3 separate regions of the Homo sapiens genome follow, and all the other regions are linked to region 3. Evidence: promoter capture Hi-C in 16 types of primary human blood cells and fetal thymus (Javierre and others, 2016). All regions are on one chromosome and are shown on one strand. The core of a region is centred on a gene start or on the middle of the fragment in contact, and the rest is flanking DNA. Distances in the headings are between cores, read along the strand shown. Region 1 has its middle 20 kb from the start of ACKR1. Region 2 overlaps CADM3 (cell adhesion molecule 3). Region 3 holds the start of IGSF9 (immunoglobulin superfamily member 9).

Region 1 (3,378 bases), core at 225-2,724, 720 kb after region 3:
CTTTCAGTGTGGGGCACAAGCCATTATAATATCTCCCAGAGACATCTTCCTTCACTTCCTTTTCACTGGAAGTAATTACTGTCTTCTTTTAGCAGCCACATCACTTTATAGTGTCCATAAGAGTCCATATAAGAGTCCATACCATCATTCACTTCCCAGCACACACTATGGCTTCCTACATAAACATCTTATTTACTCTGCTACACTCTTCACTCCTTGAGTGAACTGTTGATGTCTTATTCAGTTTGCACCTGGTTATGCACTCTATAAGTATCTGCTGATTGAAGAGAAGAATGAATGAGTGTATACTTGAAGTATTTAGGATCAAGCCCCTGCAGAGAGACATAATTGAATTCAACTCAAGTAAATTTTGAATGATGAAATGTACCTGGCACTATACCATATATACCATTATAGGAGACCCAAAACATATGTCATAGTCTCTTAAGCTTTTTTGGACAGGCAAGACTTATACTCATGAAGAAATTATACCTGCGGGGGGAAAATGGAAATGAGGTAAGAGAGTACTGGCAGTCCTCAAATTAGAATGTTCTTCCAAAAATTCATTTAAGTTGGTTGTTTGAAGTTTGGAGTAACTCTATCTATGAAAACATTGTCATCAGCTTTATAATATGTTTCCAATATTGGTCCACAATATTTTGCCAGAAAAGTCAAAGATGGGAAGGACTTTAGAATTTATCTACTCAAAGCTTCTCATTTTATAGAAGAGACAGTATGACTTTCCTAAGATCACACAGTGAGTAAGCTGAAACTAGAATTCTCATTTTAGCAACACTCAGTAGTAGTAATAGAAAAGCAATCATCACGACAGGGAACTGTACTTGTGTAAATATTTATCAAATGTCCATTATGTGGCAGACTGTGCAAATGCCTTTTTACCCAAAGCACCATCCTTGACGATCCTCTCCTTCCTCTGCCCTCTTTGATTTACATTCTGCTGATTTTACTACTTCTATATTCCTCTGATCCATCCTCTTCTCCCCAACTCTACCATCACTTTTTTAGTTAAGGTCACTTCCTCTCTTATCTGGCCAATTACAGCAGCTTCCCAGTTTGCTCTCCCAAGTCCTTTGTCTCTAGAACCTCCAAAGTGATCTATGTATGACATTTAAGAAACAAACTATATCATTACATTTCTCTGCTTAGAACTTTCATATGAGTCCACTTTGCCTACCAGATGAAATGCAGGCTCCCTAACTTGTTCTACAAAGTTCTCCATTGTCTACTGCCTGTGCGCCTCCCCTGTCACTCCCCGCCTCCCACTTCAAGCAATGACAATACAGACCTGCTTGCCATTCTCTGCTCGACCATGATATTTTTCCTCCCTCTTCTAGCTCACATTCTCACCTCTCTCTGAAGTGCCCACCTCCGTTCTCAGCTCACCTGCCTAGGTCCTATTTGTCCTTTGGTAACAGAGGTATCCACTTCCCTCTGTCTCTATGTTGCTTCAGTCTGGCTCCTGAGAAGAGGTTTTTTTAGCTCTTTATTCACTAGATGGTGATAGAAAAGAACTCAAAACAATTTTTCCACTACCCTATTAGGTGACCAGGGATTTTCTAAAATCTTAGTATGTCCAGGAGCATTACTTGAGTGAGTCAAATCAGAGAATCCATGATATAACTGGACCCATTGCATTGACTGAAGAATTGATACGTATCTGAGGCAGAGATCGGACTGCATGTGATAACTGTGTCCCTAGAGAACAGGAATGGTCAGAGCTTGAGATGTTGACTGGCCAGCTGCCCTTCTAGGAAGATTGTCCCTAGAAGCCACTGCTGGAATGATCCTCTAGTGTAGGCACTGCTTCCAAGCAGCCTGCTCTCTTGTCCACCAACCTTTACCTCTTATGGTCCAGTGTCCTGCCTAGCTCTTTAAATGGCTTCTTCAGGGACTCATGACCCTAACAGCTTTTTTTTCTCCTGTGTTCCCCTGAGATCCTCTCAGACTTCTCCCAACAAGAACTGAGTCCAGCCTCCTTACATAATAGGGGTGTTGGTCTACTGGGAACCAGATATTTGCCCCAAAGCCTATTTACATGTGATTGCATAGGCCAACCACAGCTACCTAGCAATTTCCCGTCCAGCCTTTAAACCCAAAGGCTGATCATGTTCCCAGTAAGCGGAAATAAGGGTTCATTTTGCACCAAAATGATATTTCTCCAATAAAAATGAAATTGGATGACATTCATTTACAACAGGGTGTTCTTATGAAGCTTTAAGACTTAGTTCAGCATCACTGCTGACATGAAGCCACTCTGACAAGCAGGTCTTCCCCCACTCCTCTCTGTCTGGGCTGAGTGCCTTCACTCTGTGCCTTGTAATAAGCAGACCAATATCTCCATCACTGTGCTGACCACATTGTGTTGCAATGATCTGTTTATACACCTGTTTCCACCATATCTGTGAGCTTTTTGATAGCAGGGGAGATCTTATTCATCTTTACATTTTTTATCCTAACAACAGTGTCTGACACAAAGTAGATGCTCAATAAGTAATTGTCTTACTGTATTTCACTGACTTCCTTTGATAGCTGGAGTAAATCAGAGAGCTGACCTCTTCCCTCAGGAAAGTTATATACAATTTAACCTTGTTATTAGTATGGCAAAGAGCCATCCTTTTCTGAGGGTTCTTTTCTGATGCCTCCTAGGAAGGTGCCTCCTAGATGAGGCACCAAGAATTACTATGCAGATGAACGATACATAGAAATGTGTCTAGCAGGCCGGGTGCAGTGGCTCACGCCTGTAATCCCAGCACTTTGGGAGGCCAAGGCGGATGGATCACCTGAGGTCAAGAGTTTGAGACCAGCCTGGCCAACACGGTGAAACCCCATCTCTACTAAAAATACAAAAGATTAGCCTGGCATGGTGGTGCATGCCTGTAGTCCCAGCTACTCGGGAGGCTGAGGCAGGAGAATCTCTTGAACCTGGGAGGTGGAGGTTGCAGTGAGCCAAAATCACACCATTGCACTCCAGCCTGGGCGACAGAGTGAGACTCCATCTCAAAAATAAATAAACAAACAAACAAATAAATAAATAAATAAGAAGGAAAGAAAAGAAAAAGAAATATGTCTAGCACACCAACAACAAACAGCTCAGACTGGCTGAATGGCCAGCCAGAGGTGTGATGATTTAAGTCAGTTAGATGTCTCTGGTAAGAAGTTTACAAGAAGTAAGGGTATTTTACATTTTCCCTCAGGTTTCTGGAGGAGGGGCACACTTTGCGGAAGGGTGGCGGGTACTCTGACCGATAGCACACAGAATCAAATCCCAAAAGGTCTTTAACGGTTATTTCTTTCAAGAGAACTTCATATTAAGCAATAATCCTACAGTCTAGATAATAATTTATTTTAAAAATAATA
Region 2 (3,231 bases), core at 5-2,504, 760 kb after region 3:
TTTGGAGCTAAAAAGGGTGACTGTGAGGACAGGTGGCATGTGTGTGTGCGTGTGTGTGTGTGTGTGTGTGTGTGTGTGTCTGTCTGTGTGCTTGCTGGCATCTGCAAGGTGAAGAGCTGAGGGAATGCTAACCTGATTGTGAAGCAGGAGACAGGGGCCAGAAGAGAAGAGAAGAAAAAAAGCAGAGGAACATGTCCTATTCTTGAGCTGGAGAGAGAAAAAATCTGGAGGCAGAAGTGGGCTTGTGGTAGGCTGAGGGGGGCCTTCAGAGACTTAGTTAAGATTCCGAGGAGCAGAGACTGGGAAGTGGGTGGCAGGGAAGGAGGTGGGGACAGCTGTTGCTTTGATTTGCTATTGAGTCAGTGTTCTTGGTGCATTAGCACCAGGAGGGAGCCCTGGGCTGGCCCCCAACCAAAACAAGCCCCTCTGTAGCCAATACTGAGTTGTAGCAAGGAGAACTGCAGTTGAGAGACAAAAAGGGAGGGGATTTGATCCCGAAAGAGTCTCTTCCTTGCCTTAGCTGCTTCCTTCTGGGACTGGGCTGTGTGCTCTAGACAAGCATCTAGTGTTCTGCCTGAAGAGGATGAGAGGGTGAGGTGAAACTGAGCACGGGGGAGGGCTCAGTGAGGACCTCTAGAGCACAGATTCTGTGCAGGTACTGACTGTCTTCAGTTGTTTTGGAGTAGGCCCCTGAAGACAGGATGATAACAGCCCTGAGCCATTTTAGGAGTGTCTGTTTATCCCATCTCCTCATTCCCTTCTCACTATGATCAAACACTTTAGACATACGGACAGGTATGACTTGAAATCTGCATTCTAATGCAATACAGTCAGGAGGCCAGACTTTGAACTCTTAGTTGTCCTCTTAAACTAAGTAGAGGGATTTTATACCCTTTCCCCCAATTTATCTTGCTGTTTTCACACATATGTAATAAAACTGGGGGGAAAAAGTTCCTCATCTTAGGAAAGTACTTGAGAAAGGAAACATAACAGAGTCAAACGCAGAATTCAATTTAGCTCATTGGAAGGGTATGGGAAAATAGAGACTGGGAATGGGCCAGAAATCCCAGAAAATCAGAAGTAAAGAATATATTCTCTGGAGATGAAAAATCTCAGCCCAGGTTCCAACAACTTGCTCATACTCTGCACTACCCATCCCAGTGCCCCAATACCTGTCTGAGGGCATGGATGAATTCCCTTTCTCAGTGGGCTCTGTCTTATTCTCCTATGCTCCTTATGTTGCACTTTAGATATTACAGGCTGATGGCTTGGTGTGGTGGGATAACAATGCTGTGGAAAAGTTTAATTTGTTAGAAGTCAAGCAAGAAAGCACTCATCTCTGCTGGTTCTGATTTTCCTGACTTGTTTTTACTGTTTCCCTTCACTGGATGATCAGAGTCTGGGTGTGGATGACAGGTTCAGGGCAATGGTTAGGAGCATTACATGAAGAAAAATGTGTTCTGCTCTACACACCCACACTACTCTAGTTTCACTGATTCCCCCAATCCTAACTGCTATTTAGTCTCCCTGCACTCTTCTCACTTAAAAAAAAAAAAATCTGTATTTTTAAAATTGCGGTACATTGTTCGCATTAGCCTCACTTTGTGAGAATTTCACTCTTCTGTGAAATAGATACATTCTCCCAAGTCCACAGATCTCACAGTCCCCGAAATGGAAAATAATATTGTTCTGACATAAAGAACTCTTATCTCTCTTCTTAAATCTCCATTGAGTGTCTCTTATTTGATGGGGGCAAACACACATTTTTGTTCCCTAAGATAGATGCATATTTTGACATGTGCCCCTCAATACACACACACAAGACACTCTGATTCTCACTAATCATATTTCTGGGGTTTTTTTCTGACATGAACACACAGATTTTATTATGACCCAGATACAGAGCCCTTTTCACATGCCCATATTAATCAGAACCCCTTACTTCCAGAATACCATATGGCTTAAACTCAGAGATTCTCCCCAAAGCAGAATTCAGGCTCTCTCTTCTGCTCAAACTCCCCAGGAGAGGGCCAGAATCCTCTCCTCTCCAGGGTTGAGGCTCAGTCCATCTGTCACTGACATTGGACTCCAGGGCTTGGAAACCAGAAAAGAGTTGGCATTAAGTGGCAATTGAGGATAAATCAAAATATGGGAGGCTCAGGGGCTTAGTGGTGGTAATTTTTATATTTGTGTGAGATTAGCAGATAGAAGTTATGGGAAGAAACATATAATATGTATTTGGAAAGATCTCATCCTTAAGAACTACAGCAAGAACTAGTGAGTGCAATTGTTTCACTGTAATTTTTGCATTTGCTGGGCAAAAAAAAAATGATTAGGAGCAGATGGTAAAACTGGCTTCTCATTTTATAATAACTCAAGAACTCAGCTCCAGGCTCTTCAGACTGACTGACTGCTATGCTAAGTTCCAAGTTACCTCTCATTGATATACTTACTGAAATCAGAATTGGAAGCAAAGCGCCAGGTCATAGAAGGGTAAAAGTAAAATATGAAACAAGAATCTGCATATTTCCAATAAAATCTGTTGTCAGAAGTACTAGTTCTTCATCCTACCTTGCCAGTATTTGGGAGTATATGAAGAAAGGGGAGAAATGAATAATGGCTAGCCTACAGATGAGTGCCTGAGACATCAGCCTTCATTACTTTTTCTTTTTTCTCTCTAGAGCAAGGTGATGCACCTGACCTTCTTGACCCTGAACTAGAAGTAAATGAGCCAAAGGTGCTTATAATTAGCAATCAATACACAGTTAGTGTAAGTCTAGCTGGGGAAAGGGAAAATAAATCCTTAGAGAAGACAACATTTTAGTTTGTTCTTTAAGTTATTTAGCTTTCTTATTGTTCTCTTGGAGACTTCCAAGAGAAAGAGAGAGAGAGAAGAGAATCTTGAAGAATCCCAGGGGTAAGAGTTCACATTAAAGAATGATATATGTGCTGAAAAATATGTTGAGATTTCTGTATTTGAGTCCTTTCTGAAACCTGCCTGCTCTTCATGAGAACAGGGGGCTTAGGAAGATGAGTAGATGGGAGACACTCCAGCTGTTACTATAACCCTAATTCTGTCTTGCTGAAGCCTCGCTCATAGAGATAAATCACTCTCATTACCTGTCCTTGAGGAATGAAGTTTCTCCTTGTTTCAAATGAAGAAATGAAAGAGGAGTCCTGGAAATTCATCCTGGAAGCCTGCCTCTCCAACTAGACTCTGCTGTAGGTCAC
Region 3 (3,048 bases), core at 468-2,967:
GCAGTGAGCCGAGATTGCACCACTGCACTCCAGCCTGGGCGATAGAGTGAGACTCTGTCAAAACAAAAAAACAAACAAACAAAAAACCCGCTTCACTCTTTTACCATTTCTTCTAGCCTTGCTTCCATGCTGCATTCATTAACATGTTTCCATTATAGTCTTATCAATAGATCAGGGTATTATGTTGAAATGCATTGTTGAAAAGCTGCTACTTTGGGACTATTTGCAGGAGGGATGGTGGGAGAGACTGGCCCACTGCTCCTGCCTCTTCCCTTCCATCTCAGTCACCCAAAAGCACTAAAACCTTTACACCTGGAAGAACTGTCCAGCAGGCAGAGCTTACTAAGGATGGAATGGGTACAACAGTAGTGCTGAGCTTCCTGGCCCAGGATGTAATGAGATAGGGGCTTGGATGACTACATGGAGAAATGATGTGCCAGGGATTCTGGGGCCAAGTAGTGCTTAGGCCCATCCTGGAGGTTCTCTCATGATGCTGCAGCAGTGATTCTGTGAGTCTGATGCCTGGTGCACTCAGTTTGAGTCTTAGTACTTCGGATTGGGATGAGATCAGCACGTTGCTTTCATGGAAGGCTTCCAAGGGAGCCAACTGAATGGGAAGGACCTGGACAGGCAATGTTGCTTAAGCCGACCCAGCATCCCTACAGCATCACCAGGCTGAGGAGGTGGAATCTCTGAGGGGCAAGATATGCAAGATATCTTTGTGTCTGAGGGCGAAGCCTCCAAGGGAGTAGGTTTGATGAAGTTTGGGTTGGGTCTCAATCCAGCTCTGCCATAACCTAGTTGGGAAAGCTTGGGCCAAGTTACTTCATCTCCCTGAGCCTCAGTTTTCTCATTAGTCAAAGGGAGCTCTACTTACTTCGCAGGGTTTCTGTGAAGGTTACACAAGAGTTATAAAGCATCTAGTCCAGGGTCTGGCACCCTGCATGGGTCCAGTAAGTGATCTTGTATTTCATTCCTCCCTTTCAATCTCCCGTGTCAGGATATCTGTCGTTTCTCCCCTCTGGGCCTGTTTCTCTGGGTCGTTGGTGCCAGAGCTGCCTTGGGAGCTGACTTGGCAACCCCACGCTCAGAGCACAGCCTTCCTCAGCTGCACACGGTGGGAGGCGCCTGGGCAAGATTTGGGAGCTCGCCAATGCAGACAGGTATTTCCAGTCCTGCTAGAGAAGCAATGGGTGGAGGTAGAAATGGGGATGGGGGAGGAGATCGGATGAGCCCGGGACCTGGGTGGATCCCCTGGGAGGAGGGCGGGGAGTCATGCTCCCCGCCTGGTTCTCCTACCCCCAGGCTCAGATTTCAACCCTCGCTGCCGCCTCTGTGGCGCGCCCGTTCGGGGAGCGGAGAGGGTCGCCCGTAGGTTCCGAAAGAAGGACGGCGTACCAGTAGCCTGGCAAGGGGCCAGCTCCCGCAGCCCTGGAGCGCGAGCCGGACCCTGCTGCCCCTCTTGCTGGCGGCGGGAAGCGGCCCACCGGCCTTTCCACGCTTGGCTGTGCAGAGGTCCACGAGGGGGCGACCTGAGCCCACGTGCAGCCGAGCTCTTCCCTCCTGAAACTACAACTCCCAGGCCGCTCAGGGGTCCCGCCCGCCTCGCCGTGCCTCTGGCGGCTCCAATTGGCCGCCGCGGGAGGGGGATTGGCGGTCTCCAGGGCGACGGGAGGCGCTCGGGGCATCCGAGGCGGGGAGGCGGGTCCGCCCCCTATTGTGTAGCGGCGAGAGTGGAGCCGAGCGGTGCGGAGCAGGTGAGGGAGGGGGCGTACTGGAGGTATAGAAGTGGTGGTGCTGGTAGTGCGGAGTTATGGGGGACAGGAGAAAGCGGGGAGTTCTAGAGAGAAGTGGAATTCGTTGCAGGAGTAGAACTAGGGGAGTTCTGGGGAGTGAAGTGGAATTCTTGGCGGGTGGGTGGGAGTTCCCGGAGAACTGCAGGAGTTCTGGAGGCAATGTGGGGGAGTTCTTGGTGGGTTCTAAGAGAAAGGAGGAGTTCCAGGGGACCAGAGAATGCGAGGGAGAAAGGAATTGTTGGGGGTGGGGTATCAGAATTGTATTGTGGGCTGATGCAGGAGAATCCCAGGGAGGGGAATTATCGGGAGGAGAGGATGGGGAGAAGTGGCTGGGGGGTGGGGAGACCAGAAGGGAGTTCTTTATAGTGCAGGAGACCTGCTGCAATTGGAGATCAGGTGCGAGAAGCTGGAATTGTGGGGGGATTGTGCGTAGTAGCGATAACTGGGAAGGGAGTAATGGGAGGACGAGGGAGTGGTGTGTGGGGAGACTAGAAGGGTGAGGAAATAGTGGAGGCCGGGGGAGTTGGAAAGATATTAAGAGACTGGGAGGAATTCTAGGGATGCCTAGTTACTCAGAGTCTCGGAAAACAACCAGGAGAGAACTAGGGGGTTCCTATATACTTGGAAAAAGGTTTTTCAGGGAAGTGTGGGAGAGCTGCCTGGAGGCAGTGGGAAACAGGGGGCTTGGTTGCTAGTGAATTGCCAGAAGTTAGACATACAGGATCATTAAGTAGAGGCAAGGATCAGACTCTGTGGAGGATGTTTTATAGTCTGTCCTGAACTTTGCGGCCAAGAGTGGGTTGGAGGACTCAGAGCAGAGTCCACTTGGCAGTGCCAGGCCCTGGCATGGACCCTCTGGCTCTCTGAGACTGCCCTAGGATCTGTGGGGCTGTCAGAAGCTCCTACCCTCCATGCCCCAGGGTTAATTTTGTACACTTCAGGGACTCACAGGCTTTTTTTTGGACCATGCCTCTGGGGTTGGGGAAGAAAGAGCTTGACAAACCCTGGCACCCCGAAGATATTGGAGGGGAGTGAGTGGGAGGGATTTGGGTGAGGTCCTTGGGTGGTGGTGCCTGGCAGGGGGAGGGCTGCTTGGCAGTATCGTGAGGAAGTGGCGCCAGCTGCCAGCCCCGGGACCTGTCCAGACCTGGAGGATGCTGCCTGGATCCCCCATACTGGCAGGTGGGGGAGGCAGCTCCTCCTCTCCCAAGTGCCTGACTCACTCACTGCCAAAGCAGTGTAGGGAGACTGA

The links. Contacts are between HindIII fragments. The CHiCAGO score rates a contact against its expected background, and 5 or more counts as called.
Region 1: a contact is called between a fragment that was not itself captured here and the fragment with the promoter of IGSF9 in region 3, in 4 of 17 cell types (megakaryocytes, neutrophils, erythroblasts and 1 more). The highest score is 7.0, in megakaryocytes.
Region 2: a fragment that was not itself captured here is called in contact with the fragment with the promoter of IGSF9 in region 3 in 3 of 17 cell types (M2 macrophages, megakaryocytes and endothelial precursors); the score reaches 7.6 in M2 macrophages.

The regions. Positions count from the first base shown.
Region 1 is chr1:159,223,373-159,226,750 of GRCh38, reverse strand. No RefSeq gene overlaps it. Among named protein-coding and RNA genes, the nearest start is that of ACKR1, 20 kb to the right of the region's middle. The HindIII fragment of the contact is 1,523 bases long and covers 713-2,235 here.
Region 2 is chr1:159,178,906-159,182,136 of GRCh38, reverse strand. The region is part of intron 1 of CADM3 (cell adhesion molecule 3); the gene reads right to left. Among named protein-coding and RNA genes, the nearest start is that of CADM3, 8.9 kb to the right of the region's middle. The HindIII fragment of the contact is 4,108 bases long and covers 1-3,231 here.
Region 3 is chr1:159,944,282-159,947,329 of GRCh38, reverse strand. It overlaps IGSF9 (immunoglobulin superfamily member 9), which reads left to right and starts at 1,717. Exons shown (of 21, transcript NM_001135050.2): 1 at 1,717-1,757. It overlaps LOC124904438 (a long non-coding RNA gene), which reads right to left. Exons shown (of 3, transcript XR_007066684.1): 2 at 878-1,178. RefSeq lists an enhancer at 1,094-1,594 and a silencer at 1,437-1,731. The HindIII fragment of the contact is 10,806 bases long and covers 813-3,048 here.